Linked DNA regions of Homo sapiens: all the other regions are linked to region 3. Evidence: promoter capture Hi-C in 16 types of primary human blood cells and fetal thymus (Javierre and others, 2016). All regions are on one chromosome and are shown on one strand. The core of a region is centred on a gene start or on the middle of the fragment in contact, and the rest is flanking DNA. Distances in the headings are between cores, read along the strand shown.

The links. Contacts are between HindIII fragments. The CHiCAGO score rates a contact against its expected background, and 5 or more counts as called.
Region 1: a fragment that was not itself captured here is called in contact with the fragment with the promoter of PID1 in region 3 in 4 of 17 cell types (M2 macrophages, M0 macrophages, M1 macrophages and 1 more); the score reaches 6.4 in M2 macrophages.
Region 2: a fragment that was not itself captured here is called in contact with the fragment with the promoter of PID1 in region 3 in 1 of 17 cell types (monocytes); the score reaches 8.5 in monocytes.
Region 4: a contact is called between a fragment that was not itself captured here and the fragment with the promoter of PID1 in region 3, in 1 of 17 cell types (monocytes). The highest score is 13.5, in monocytes.
Region 5: a contact is called between a fragment that was not itself captured here and the fragment with the promoter of PID1 in region 3, in 1 of 17 cell types (monocytes). The highest score is 5.3, in monocytes.

What each region holds. Positions count from the first base shown.
Region 1 is chr2:229,138,932-229,141,765 of GRCh38, forward strand. The region is part of intron 2 of PID1 (phosphotyrosine interaction domain containing 1); the gene reads right to left. Among named protein-coding and RNA genes, the nearest start is that of PID1, 130 kb to the right of the region's middle. The HindIII fragment of the contact is 6,591 bases long and covers 1-2,834 here.
Region 2 is chr2:229,450,301-229,453,000 of GRCh38, forward strand. The region is part of intron 7 of DNER (delta/notch like EGF repeat containing); the gene reads right to left. Among named protein-coding and RNA genes, the nearest start is that of PID1, 180 kb to the left of the region's middle. The HindIII fragment of the contact is 2,854 bases long and covers 22-2,700 here.
Region 3 is chr2:229,269,868-229,272,567 of GRCh38, forward strand. PID1 (phosphotyrosine interaction domain containing 1) reads right to left here and starts at 1,420. Exons shown (of 3, transcript NM_001100818.2): 1 at 1,147-1,420. The coding sequence starts at 1,176. The HindIII fragment of the contact is 3,085 bases long and covers 702-2,700 here.
Region 4 is chr2:229,433,396-229,436,095 of GRCh38, forward strand. All of the region lies in intron 8 of DNER (delta/notch like EGF repeat containing), which reads right to left. Among named protein-coding and RNA genes, the nearest start is that of PID1, 160 kb to the left of the region's middle. The HindIII fragment of the contact is 820 bases long and covers 862-1,681 here.
Region 5 is chr2:229,481,381-229,484,080 of GRCh38, forward strand. The region is part of intron 6 of DNER (delta/notch like EGF repeat containing); the gene reads right to left. Among named protein-coding and RNA genes, the nearest start is that of PID1, 210 kb to the left of the region's middle. The HindIII fragment of the contact is 310 bases long and covers 1,181-1,490 here.

The DNA of each region.
Region 1 (2,834 bases), core at 118-2,617, 130 kb before region 3:
TAAGAGAAAAGGGGTACTGAAGAAAAGAGAAATAAATAGAAAAAAATAGAAGAAAGAAAGAAAGAAAGAAAGAAAGAAAGAAAGAAAGAAAGAAAGAAAGAAAGAAAGAGAAAGAAAGAAAGAAAGAGAAAGAAAGAAAGAAAGAAAGAAAGAAAGAAAGAAAGAAAGAAAGAAAGAAAGAAAGAGAAAGAAAGAAAGAAAGAAAGAAAGAAAGAAAGCAAGCGAGCGAGCAAGCGAGCTTCCCTTGACCAAACACTCCCTTGGAATACATGTATTTTTAGTTTTGCTTCACCATGATAGGGCACTTAACCTGTCTTTAGCTACACTTAAAAGAAAGAAAAAGGGATACAGTGTCACAAATGGCACTTCCTTCACAGTGATGGCACAATCATGAATGAGTCAAATGCTGCAGCCTAAAGACAAACGACTACAGATTAATGAGCTAGATGAAGAATCTATCCTACAAATACAATGAAAATACATTTTGCCCCACCCACAGAATCTAAGATTTTCCATATTTCACACAGTGCTGATCTTAGCATCTTTATCCTCTAGGAACATGTGAACTCTTCTAGCTGTGAACTACTGAACAAGGAAAAAACAAACAACGAACAAAAAAGCCTCCTAAATCTGAATATCCCAGCACTGAGAAAGTCACTTTTCCTTTCTACAAAGAAATCTTGATCTACGAATGTAGAGTCTGCCCTAGCTAATGAACCATCTTGGCTATCATAACTGGCTGCTAGTTGTCAATAAATCTCAGACCGTGGCCAAAGCTACACAAGCTACATTTCATTTTAATGTCTTTAACATCCACACAAATGATGATGAGTTCTCTCCTTATCTCTCCCTTGATATAATAAGGAGGAACAGTCTCAGCACTGGAGGATTGGCCCAAGAATGAAGAAAGATAAATACCAGTTCTGCTCCTACACCTGTTTGCTAAGAATATCACTTGGTCTGATAGGTCTAGTTTTTCTCACCCTCCACATGGGGGCCAAGAGAGGATTTTGATCTTGATCAGGATATCTGACACCAGTCTATCATTTTCTCCTCCTGAAACAATAGCAGATATTCATGAATGAGCTTGGCATGCTTTTCTGCAAAGCCAAGAAGCAGCCTCCATGTCCTTAGCGTGGTACTCCAGGACCTCATCCCCAAAGTATGCTATGTCCACCCCGGAAGCTACATAATAGAATCACCTAGGTTGTGGACAGAATATATTAAAATTTCTATTTATAGTTATTTTTATCTTCAAAAATATGAAATAAATTCAGCGTTACTAATGCTTAATACATAGGCCGACACTGGAATCCTCCACCAATCCATTTGTCATATAATCAGTGTCACATACAGAATTAGAAGTATCCTAAGGGAGGGTGGGCATCCTATAGTGGGAAAGGAGTTGATGGGACACTTCACCTGCGGGATCACTCAGAGCTTTACAGTCCACATTCGCTCACTGCAGTGAAGTTATGGATTACAAATCTGGTTTTAATAAAATCCTGCTGACATTCCTACAAATAAATGACAGATTTAAGGTAATTAAAAGAGTGCACACACACACACACAAGAAAATGGTAGAGCTGATGTATTTCCTTCTCCTGGCATATGATCTTTTCTACCTTATTCTGGGGTGAAAACTGATGATCCAATTGCATCTGACAAGAAGTCAGCCAAACAATATTAAAACTATCAAAGCTATGTGAAATTCAGTTTTATATCCATTATTGTTAAAGAAGAGCCTGGCCTACACTAAGAGAAATCCATCATAATAACAAGATATACATACAATATTGTTTATTCCTAATGTAGCTCATGCCAACATTTCTACTTTATATTTGTTTTAAAATAGTCATAATAAACCCTATCTCTAAAAATATATATTTAATAATTAGTAACTATTACAGCGATTTAGCCTATGTATTAATACATTTATAATTATCAGTAGTGTTTCTTTTGTTTAAAGGGGTCTGTAATTTAAAAAGAAAAAATGAGTAGGGTTCCTAGTAGAGGATTTTACTGACCATGAACAAATAAACTATTTTTTTTTTTTGCATTGCCCTAATAGGTCTGCACATTTCCTTCCTTTGACTCTCTTTGTCTCAGACTGACTCTAGTATCTATGTGGCAGGATGACTTATCTTCCTCTCTGCTCTTTCTCTTCCAGAAGATGACCCTTGCTATGAAGCGGAAATAAAATTAGGGTTCTGTTGGCATAGTAACTATGAAGACACCACGTTTTTGCAACATAAAACTTTCTTTTTTAATCTTCAAGACTAAGGTCCATTTCTCCTATTGATGATTAATGCTGAGGATCCTGAAGCTCCCTTTCCCTGGAGCTCCTTCTACCTCCAAACCAGATGTTCCTGATAGACCAGGATTGTTGGGGATGGGGCTGCAAGGAAGGGCCAAGAAGTAAAAAAGACTTTAGGAAATCTCTGGAAGGAGAATAAAGAGGGGAGAACAGAAGAAAAGGGACTTTTATCCACAAGCAAGGTGGACTCTGAATGAGCTGTCTGGTAAGTAAGCACCTGTTTTGCACCACCTCATGAATAGACTAATAGGAAAGTGTTTCCATAATAGTGGATGGCACCACTCCTGCTCTAACACTTATTGCAGGCATACTAGGTGGAAACATGAGAATTCTAGCACTGCTCATAAGTGTCACGAAAACAACTCTTAAAGAGAATGCATTCATCAATCAATGTGGGGGGGGAACTAATTTCAGTGGGATTTTCAGCTTACAGGGTAACTTTCCTGGCTCCCAGGATGATGAATTTCATTTATCCTCATTACTTCCTGAGTAAATTATTTTATAATTCCTGGATTTG
Region 2 (2,700 bases), core at 199-2,698, 180 kb after region 3:
TAAGAAAAATCAGGAACAAGAAGCTTATACCTACGTTAGGAGCATAAAAATGAAAATTACTTAGAACTACTAGAACCCAGTAGAAGAGTTAATATTAAATATAGTTCTCAGTGGAGGTTGATAGTTAAGCATTGGATTAGCAATGTCATGGGTTAAATTGCGTCCCTCCAAAATTCATATTTTTTAAAATTAGCTTTCTCTGGTTGAGTAAAATTCATATTTTGAAGCCCTAACTCTCAATACCTCAGAATGTGGCTTTTCAGGGATAGTGCCTTTAAAGAGGTGAGTCAGTTAAACTGAAGTTGTTAGGTTGAGCCCTAATGCAATCTGACTGGTGTCTTTATAAGCAGAGATCAGGACACAGAAAAAGACACCAGAGATGCCTGTGCACAAAGGAAAAGACCTTGTGAGGAGGAAGCAAGAGGGTGGCCCTCTGCAGGCCAAGGAGAGAGGCCTCAGAAAAAATCAACCCTGCCAGCACTTTGATCCTGAGCTTCCAGCCTCCAGAACTAGAAGTAGATGAACTGCTTATCAGCCTCCAAAGCTAGAAAAAGATGTCTGTTGTTTAAACCTGTAGTCCTTGGTCACAGCAGCCTGAGAAGACTCATACAAATAGGGAGCATAAGGAGACAGGGAAGCGATAATTAGGATCTTGTGTTTGATTCTGTGTTCACCACCCCAGCAGTCTGAGTGACCATGGCAAGGCCCCCTTTCTCCCATCGTCCACTGCCTCTACCTGGAAAACAGGGCTGAAACTGTTTTCTTTACAAAGTCACTGTGGGTTCTGAAAAAAATACATATCAAACTTCCTAGTACGGTTCCCAGTCCAAGGCTGGAAGAATGAATGAATTAAAAATGCTAATAATAACAGCAACAGGCCAGGCGTGATGGCTCATGCCTATAATCCTAGCACTTTGGGAGACTGAGGCAGGCGGATCACGAGGTCAGGAGTCCAAGACCAGCCTGGCCAACGTGGTGAAATCCCGTCTCTACTAAAAATACAAAAATTAGCCGGGTGTGGTGGTGCCTGCCTGTAATCCCAGCTACTGGGGAGGCTGAGGCAGGAGAATCGCTTGAACCCAGGAGGCGGAGGATGCAGTGAGCCGAGATAGTGCCACTGCACTACAGGCTGGGTGACAGAGCAAGACTCTGTCTCGAAAAATAAATAAACAAATAAATAAATAACAGCAACAGCTAACATCCACTGGAGGCTGATTTGCATCACCTGGTTCTAACCCTTTAGGTGAACTATTTCATTTAATCCTACTATTATAGTAGGATGTAAGAACTATAATAGCCCTATCTTACAAATGTGAAAACAGTGACATGAGAATGTGAAGTAACCTTTTCAAGTCTAAATAGCTAGTATATGGCAGAGCTGGGACACCAAGGCCAAGTGCTTACACGTCTCCTACACTGCACAGAAGAGAAGTGAATGACCAACCAATTAAGATGTTATGATGTGTAAGCAAAACCAGGACTTATGTTTCTATCCTGTTTGTGTCTTGGTGAAAGAATAGAGGATTTACTGATCAGGTCAAAATAAAGGAAAAAGTGAATTTTAGAAAGGCAATCACTCTAGCTTTATGTCAATATACTCAGTTATAAATAGTAATATAAGCCACACAGAATAGTCCAAGTAGAAATAAAAATGGGTAACAAGGAGACATAAAGGGTCATGGCTTTGGAGAGAGCCAATATTTCAATAAGAAGAGAAGTGCAGAAAATGAATAATAATGAGAGCACTGGTCAGGCCAGGTCACGACTGGTCTTATATGTTACACTTGGGAGCTTACATTTCATTCTGAGGCTACTGGATATCATCTATTTTCATTATTTATATCTCTAATTATAGGCAATGTGGAGAGGGAATCAGAAGAGGTTGAGACCGGAAGCATGAAACCAGTTGTTTACTCGAATAATTGAGGTTGTGAAGGCCAATTTGTAGCAATAAACATAAAGAATGTGAAATATATTAGAGCATGATTTTATAAGTAAAATTATCAATTCAGGGACCACTTGGACTGTAGAAGAATGGAAGAGACGACAGAGCCCAGAGACACAATGTAACATAAGTCAAAAATGCAAATGCCAGCAGGACTCCGGTAGATAATGTTGATACAGAGGGTGGATCAGGTGTAATACAATAGGGACTGGCAGGGTCTGTGGCAAACGGGAGAAAGCATGCCCCTTCCAAAAAAGACGGCCGCCATAACCTGCAGCCAATTTGAAACATGGGGCCAGGTACCATATCTTCTGAGTGTTCAAGAAAAGTCCGAAATCCAAATTCCTGTTTGAGCCTTGTCTATTTTATTATTATTTTATTTATTTATTTATTTATTTTTTGAGATGGAGTCTTGCTCCGTAGCCCAGGCTGAAGTGCAGTGGCATGATCTCGGCTCACTGCAACCTCCGCCTCCTGGATTCAAGCATTCTCTTGCCTCAGCCTCCCAAGTAACTGGGACTACAGGCACTTGCCACCACGCCCAGCTAATTTTTGTATTTTTAGTAGAGACGGGGTTTCACCATGTTGGCCAGGCTGGTCTTGAACTCCTGACCTCAAGTGATCCACTCGCCTCAGCCTCCCAAAGTGCTGGGATTACAGGCGTGAGCCACCACACCCAGCCAAGGCTTGTCATTTTAAACTGTTGATAAATAATTTCTCCAGCAAATAAAGCATATGTATGGGCCCTGTATATG
Region 3 (2,700 bases), core at 170-2,669:
CGCAAATCATGGCCCAGGGAGCTTTGGAAAGGAGCTGTGGGGCATCTGTTTCTGCTAAATGCAATGCCCTCTGCGGGTTGTTCCTCTGTATGAGGACTCCTAGACAAAGGTTAGCCTCTCCCTGCATCTGAGAAACTGTGCTTGGGGCTGTAAATGTTCATTGAGAAGCCTCCAACCTAGCCAGGGCCTGGCCTCATTGTCCTAAGTCTTCAGATGCACTCAGCCTCCAATGGTGCTGTATTTTACCAGTTAAACACGTCTTCAAAGTTTACTACGAAACAATGTGGCTCCTAGCTTGCCAAAAGTTTAACTGCAGGATTCAGTGGATTTTATCTGGCAGAGTAGCTGCCGTGACTCTTGACAATATTTGCCAGCAAAAGGCAGTCCTCAAACCTTGCAACCAGGGCAATCCCAAGGCCCAACGTGTCACTGAAGGAGTTCTTCTGGGAAAGGTCCCTCTTTCTCTTCAATCGCCTCCCGCAAATCCCCAGCTTCCAGAATCCAATTCAAGGCAGTCTGGCATTTCAGGAGACAGCAGTAAAAAACTTTTGATGGGATAACCCAGGACATAAATATTCCTGGCTGAACCTACTTTTGATTCTTAAATATCTGAAGGAGCTTGGGTTTAAGGAAGATAAAGGGAGAGAACCAATGAATAGGGAAAAATAAAATAAGTAGCATACCATGACCAAGCCAAACCAAGCTTGATATTTCCACATTATATTGGCAAATGGATGCTTTCACATATCACTTGTTCTGTCTTTCCTGGTGACCACAAAAAAAAAAAAAAAAAAAAAAAAATCTGGCTTCAAAAATCCTAACCCCAGACCACTGCATTGTGTCAGTGGAATGCAATCTAAATTGCCAGTCAGAAAGTCCAACCTTATATGTACCAACCAACACGCACACAAGCACCTCCAAGCCAAAAGTTGTAACGCCTGAACCCGTGCGTTTATCAATTTCATCATCCCCATACCCCTGCCGGGTTCCTGGCGCTGGGTAAACCGACAGCATCATGTTGCCATCGATGCGTCTTACAAGATGGTTTTGGGCAAATCCCCTAAAGTAGGCAGAAGCAAAAACTAGGTTCCTCTGCCCGGGCACCTCCTCCTCCAGGCTGGCCCCCGGCTCCCGGGTGCCCCTTACCTGCAGGCGCTCCGTGGCCGGCTGCCACATCTTCCAGCCCTGGGTTTTGGCAGAGGAGACGCTGGCGAGACTGTCGATCGCGCCGGGGGGCGAGGGGCTGGGGTCCCGCTTTACATCTGGGGTCGGTGTCCGCGGGATGTGCGTCCTGGCGCTGGCCACCGCCGCCGGGTGGGCGTAGGGGGCTGCGAGCAGGAGGAGGCGCGGCGCTCAGCTGCCGGCAACTTGTGGGCACGGCCGCGCGCCGGCTGTCCTGGCGCAGCTGCGAGAGGACTGCGCAGCTCCGCCCGGGCCCGGCGAGCGCGCGGCGGCGGCGGGGGCGGCCGCTCCCTCCTCCCCCGCCGCCGCCGCCCGGACCTGCGCGCTCTGAGCATGCCCGGGGCGGGCGCCCAGGGGCCGCGCGGGGCGGGAGTGCAGCGCGGCCGACTCTAAATCCTAGTGAGGGGTGAATGGGGAGGCTAGAACAGCCGGCCCTTCCCTGCAGGAAGCCCCCATTGGGTTGGGGTCTGGGAAAAGGGACAGACTGGCTGAGGGGGGAAGGGCCTGGAGCCGGGGGTGGTGGGGGCAGCGGGGATGTCGGGGGTGGCGGGGGTGGGGGAAATTCCTAAAATAAGGAAACCGTAGCCCCGGGGGTCCCGGGTTTCCATATAACAGGCATCTCTGAAGTGCCTGTGCTGTGCCTGGCGCTGTGCTAGGGAGACACTTCCATTCATTCTTCCCACTCCAGTTAACTGAGCATCTATTAGGCTCCAGCCCCTATGCTGGGTTCTGAGGATGCAGCGACGCAGAATAGAAGACAAGAGAATGTTCCTTCTCTCTGGAGCTTACCTTCTGCTTTGGAGAGAGAGTCGTGACTGAGCAAACACATCAACAAGCCGGTGCTATATCGGGTGGTGATAAAACAGGGCAGATGTGGGAAGAAGGGGAGAGGAGAGCTTCTTAGACAAGGGCCCTGGGGAATGCCTGGAGTAAGACCTGAGAGATGAGAGGGATTGGCCACGAAGAGGCCATGCTTCATGATGGGGAGAGGACTCGACTCCTAACCTATACAGGGGTGAGGAGGGCCATGCAGACTCCCGAATCACTAACTCATCCTGAGATCTGCCAGGTGCAGCAGGAGGCTCTCAGAACCCAAGGGAAAGCCGCTCTGGGCTCGCAGGCCTGGAGGCTCCCCGGCTAGTGCCGGCCACCATGAGATGACTTCCTGTCCTAAACAGGCCAGCCCTTCCCATTCTCTTGACAACTCGGCAAAATAACTATTAATATTTTCACCATGTGGATCAAACAAATGAGGCTTATAAGGTTTAGGTCACTTGTCCAGGTCACACAGCCAGTGAGTGGCTTAGAGAGTGCACAGTCAGATGACTTCAGGGCAGGAGATGTGGCCCTGCGCCTCTAACTGACCATGGAAACCCAGTGGAAAGAGCATCCGTCTAGGGCTGGGGGTTAAAGGCACTTGGCAAGTCAGGGATACTAAGCTGATTCTCGAGCTGATGAAGAGTGGGAGAGGAGAACATGGTGGGAAGAACTCAGGACATAGAATGACCAAAGAGAGGA
Region 4 (2,700 bases), core at 22-2,521, 160 kb after region 3:
GGAAGCTACCCTCCTCTCGAGGTTTACATAAGGGAAAAAAGTAACACAAAGGAATCCCAAAGTGACAACAAATGACGTATTGGAAAAGAAAGGCCAGAATGAGGGAAAGTAATAAGGATATAGCTGTGGCACAATGTGTTCTAGTTCCTCACTGTATGACTAGGAGTCACACATGCCTAAGCGGAATGAGGATAAACAAGTTCATATTCAAATTCGTGAGGGCAATTTTTCCCACATCTCTGATCTAGCTTCCTTAACCCACAGGAATAATATTTTTGCAGAAAGGAATGTCAGAAAATGGAAGATATTAGAAGTATTTAATACAGCACCAAGATTAAGATTTTGAGTAACATACAGACCAGTAGGTAATATTAAAAATAATATTATAGTTTTGTAAAGATTAAGTGTGTTTCAAATTGACTATCATATACTAGACATTTGTGAATTAGCTTTTTGCATTCCTAATTATCTTGCCGAAAATTTGCTCTGAAGGTAATTTATGTTGCTTATCTTTTAAAATATATTTTGAATAAAACATAAAAGCTCTACTTTAAAAAGGAAAGAAAGAAAAAAGCATAAACAATCTAAGGTAACAATTTTTGCAAACCAAAAATTGGGAACCATGATCTGACAAAGTTGCGCTGTTTCCAATTATATATCAGAGGTGGCCTCATAGATACATAGTTTGGTAGCAAAGTATTTGTGTGATGGAAAACAAAATACTGTGACTGGGATTATTCCAGAAAATTTTGGTACACGGAGTCCACAATGCAGACCACGATTATCTTTCTGGCTGTATTTACTTTCATTCCCCTATCACTGGGGACATTCACAGGCACAATGCAATCGTGTCATCCTCTAAGCTTTCTATTAGTCATTGCCATTCTCGAGTAAATATGCTAAATCCTAAATATTGTTAAACACCAGGGAAATTTCTCATGATCCTTTAAGAACAGTTTTAGAAGCACACACCTTCCACTTGGCCACTATCCCTAAGGGCTACAAATGCCCAAGGGCTGAAGCTGACAGTCAGGACTTCAGCTAAAGAATTTCATGGGGAAATTCAGCCTTGATGCAACTGGATTACAAAGAAAATTTCAAAATGTAAATAAATCAGAAATGACAACTCAATTATATGAGTAAATTCTGAATTCTCTTCCAACTTTCTTTATTAAATTAAGGATGCCTAAACACACAGCATTTGTTCATTTAAGAGTTGATAAAGCAGTGAAAAATCAGAAGTGTGTTTTTATTTGGTGACTTAAGATTCTAGGAGAATATATATGTTAATAACCTGAAGGGAAAAATGAAACTTCTTTGAAATAAAGCCAGGAACAAGGCTCAATCTATATGGAATTATGAGGTAAGTAAAGAAGTTTTCTCCTAGACATTCCTTATCACTTGAGTAGGCAAGTTCAGGGGACCTCACCATTTCTTTTCAAGCAACCAAAGATTAAACACTGTTTTTCAACTTTCTTTCTCCTCAAATCTGCTTACATATATAGAGACAATTTATATATATATATATATACACACACACACACACACACACACGTGCACACACACACACAGACACATCACATCACATTCTTCACATATTTAGGTTTAAGGTTATGGTAGATTGAAAAAAAAATAGCTACAAGTTCTGTGCAGCTCCTCCTATCAAGAAACAGAGTCTATAAGCTTGGCCCTGTGACTTGCTCATGCCACTGGGACATTGGCAAACAACAGAAGAAGCAGCTTTAAAGAGAGCATGCATATGGGACCTTGTGTTCTGTTGCTGCTTTCGGAACCCTACAATCGTGGGAAGAAGCCCCGACTGGTCTGCTGGATGAAGAGAGACATGTGGCTTAGTTGCCCCCATCACTCCAGCTAACTGCCAGCAATATAAGAGGGGTCATCCAGGACCCGGCAGTCCCCAGCTGGCTTGCCAGCTGACCACAAAAGCATGAGTGGGCACATGGAATAGAGAAGAGACATCCCAGCTAAACCCTGCCCAAATTATCAACCCACAGAATCACAAACAATAAGTGGTTTTCTTAAGCCATCAAGTCTTGGAATGTTTTGTTACACAGCAATGACTAACTAATACAAAGGTTGATTGCCAGGTACAATGTCTAACTTAAATAAATAAAACCACAAAGATAAACTTTTAGGCATCAGAGACCTGGTAAAAAAGGTATTTTTACGGAGTAGTAAAGAGGAGTCTTCTCAAAATAGTACCACCAGGTACTACATATTCCTTAGTTTAGACCTACTTTAATTGGGCTTATCCAATCTAAAAGCAACACCTACTAATGAATTGAACCTAGGACATTCACTCTGATCTGAGGCATCAGAAACCATCTGGTAGAGTAAAATTGAAACATGATCTTGGTAATCATCAACATATCATTAAGACTTCAGTCCAACCAACTAAGGACCTCTTTAGGCAATTCCTATAAAACCAAGTGGGATTGTAATTTTTTAATGATTTTGGCAATATGTTTATTCACAATATAAACTGTTTGGTAAAAGATAAACATGTGCCTAACAAGTTAACAACATTTGATTGTGATTTTTTTTAACTTTTATTTTAGGTTCAGGGATACACAGGCAGGTTTTTCATATAAGTAAATTACATGTCTCAGGGGTTTGGTGTACAGATTATTTTCTCACCCAGGTAATAAGTATAGTACACAGTAAGTAGTTTTTCGACCC
Region 5 (2,700 bases), core at 86-2,585, 210 kb after region 3:
GAGAGGCAGAGGACAAGGAGCCAGGAGCATCCTGTGGCTGGCTTCAGAAACTCTCAAATACCAGCGAGTGACTCCTTAGACCCTCAGAGAGCAGAGGCTTCACTGAAGGTGTTGGGCAAATCACTGGTATTGATATACATGTAATACTCTGAACTGGATACCTAAGATCTACACAAATCTCACCCTTCCTGTGTCTTTTGGTTTTTTATTTGATCTCATAATCAAGGAGTCAAAACTAAATGAGTGACTGGTAGAAATTTAAATGAAAAATACCATTAAAGTCTTGGCCTGGGTTTTCTTTCTTCCATCCTGCTAAAAGTCAAACTCTTCTCTGGGGACTAAAGTAACCATACCAACTATGACTAATATTTCCTTTTGCCACTAAAGCAATGACAGACACCCAGAGGACCTCGTAGAAGATATACAAGCAAGACTGATGGTATCGATGCCACAGACACAAAAGGTAATACACGGTGGCCATTCTGTGTGTGTTATGGAAGAATTTGCTCTAGCATGCATACACAACAGGCATTTCAGCCCTGGAAACCTATGCCATAGCTCCCAAGTGGAAGGTGGGCAAGACATGGAGAAAAACCCATGTAAAGGCACACAAGAGTGCAGAAAATGTGTGAATGTCATTGACACTTGACTAAAAATGCAAGACAATGATAAACTCCCTTATTTTGATTTCCAAATGACGAAAGTCTATACCTAACCATGGAGGCAAGTATCAGCAATTGTCTTTCTTTCCTCTAGCTAGTGGTACTCCCTCTAAGCCCCCATGGGCAGACCACAAGCATTCGTGAACCACCTGCCAAGTTATTGTCACAACCACATAATACCTTTCACATTGTCTAGTCCCAAACCTCACTGCCTCTCACCAGGACTCCAGCAATGGTCGCCCAGCCCCTGTCTTCACTGCCACACTTGCTTTCTTTCAATCCATTCTCCACATACGAATAGCCAAAGAGATCCTTTTAAGATATAATTCATATCCTATTACTCCTTACTTAAAACCCTCCAATGGCTTCCCAAAAGGTTTGGAATAAAACCCAAACACTTTACCCAGGGGCTAAAAGATACCGCACGGTGTGGCCCCTGCACCCTCATCTTGGCCCAGTCCTGCCACCGACCACCGTGCTGCAGCCACCCAGGCCTCACTCTATTCCGAATCTCGCCAAGCTTCTGCTCATAGGCATCAGTATTGTTTTCATGCTGTGGCCTCAGGACCAGAAAGAATCATGAGAGGGATGCAGGATTCAACAGAAGCAGTTACAGTCCTGCCCTACAAAGAGAAGTGGGGCACAGATTTAAAATTGTCCTGAGATGGAGAAATTACTGAAGAAAGTTAGCAATAAACTTTTGGGAGTGGAAAGGAGAGGACCAGTGGAGTTATAGTGGAATTTCATTTGTAAAATCAGGAAATAAAGACAGGAGGGTTTAGAAATAAATTGCACAACAGAGTAGAAGACCTAAGAGAAGGGTATCAAAGCTTTAAAGTTATCTCTAGAACCAGGTAGGGAGACATGAAAATGTCTTAAGAGGGCTACAAAGAAAAGTGCAAAATCCAACTAAGGAGGGAAGGAAAATAGCTACAACCTTAGTGGGAGTTACCAATAAAATCAGAACAATTAAACAATAATGTCTCTGGGACTCAGGGGCTGTGGGTTTTGAAATCAAGCCCATTGATGAGTATGAGCTTGGAGTTTCCTGTTGGATGGCAATAATAGGGAGAGGTGGCCTATGTGTGCTCATCCCACTGATATGAGAAGAATCACCCTGGATGCCCAGGACTCCTGAGACAGCCAAAAACCTCCCTCCCAGAAACAACCTTAGTCCTCTGAGCGCCAACTGCAATTCATTTGGGTCAAGAACCACAGTTAGCTTAGGATAATGAAGCTCTTCCATTAGCGGTATGAGTCTTCCAATCACAAGAAGAGATAGAGCCAAGTATAGAGATGATGATATGAGGACGTAGATCAAGCCCATGGTTCTGCCACTTCGTGTCTGGTTTAAGCTAATCTGTGCCTATTGGTATGCAAAGAATGTGTGATGATTGAGAAAAAATGTGATGTGTGAGAGAATCTATCACACTTATGATTCCAATTAAAATGTTTAGCTGAGTAATTGGTTTTTGATTGATGAATTTAAGTTGAAAGATAAGATTAAGTCAGAACCCATTGGGATGTTGAACAGAGCTTGAGAATCATTATAGTGTTTAAGTTTACTTCTCACAAGGGAACGCATACAAAAGATAATTTCAAATAGTCTTCTCTGTGCCCAAAGGACATTCTGGGATGCCAAAAAACTCACCCCTGGACCCTGTGGTCACACTGCAGGGCTGTTTCCTCTGACTCTGCAGCCTTCTGTGCCCACCCTCTTTCATTAGTTAGCTCTAAGCTCAGAAGTCACTTGCTCAGACCTCAGGCTTTTTGCCCTTGTTTATTCTAAAACTTCGCTCTTATTTCTACTTGAAACACACACACATACTTGTTACCTCCCCACCCAGAAGGTGACCCATGGGAGTAGGGCTGCATCCCTGGAGGCCCCTGTTGTATCCCCAGGGCACCTGTGTGCTCATCACTGTATACTTCTCATTACCTACAATGATTTTCTTTATTGGTTTCCTTCCGAGAACATAAACTCCCTGAGAATCAGGACTTTCTCTGCCTTGTTTGGAGAGAAACCTCTGGACCCTCC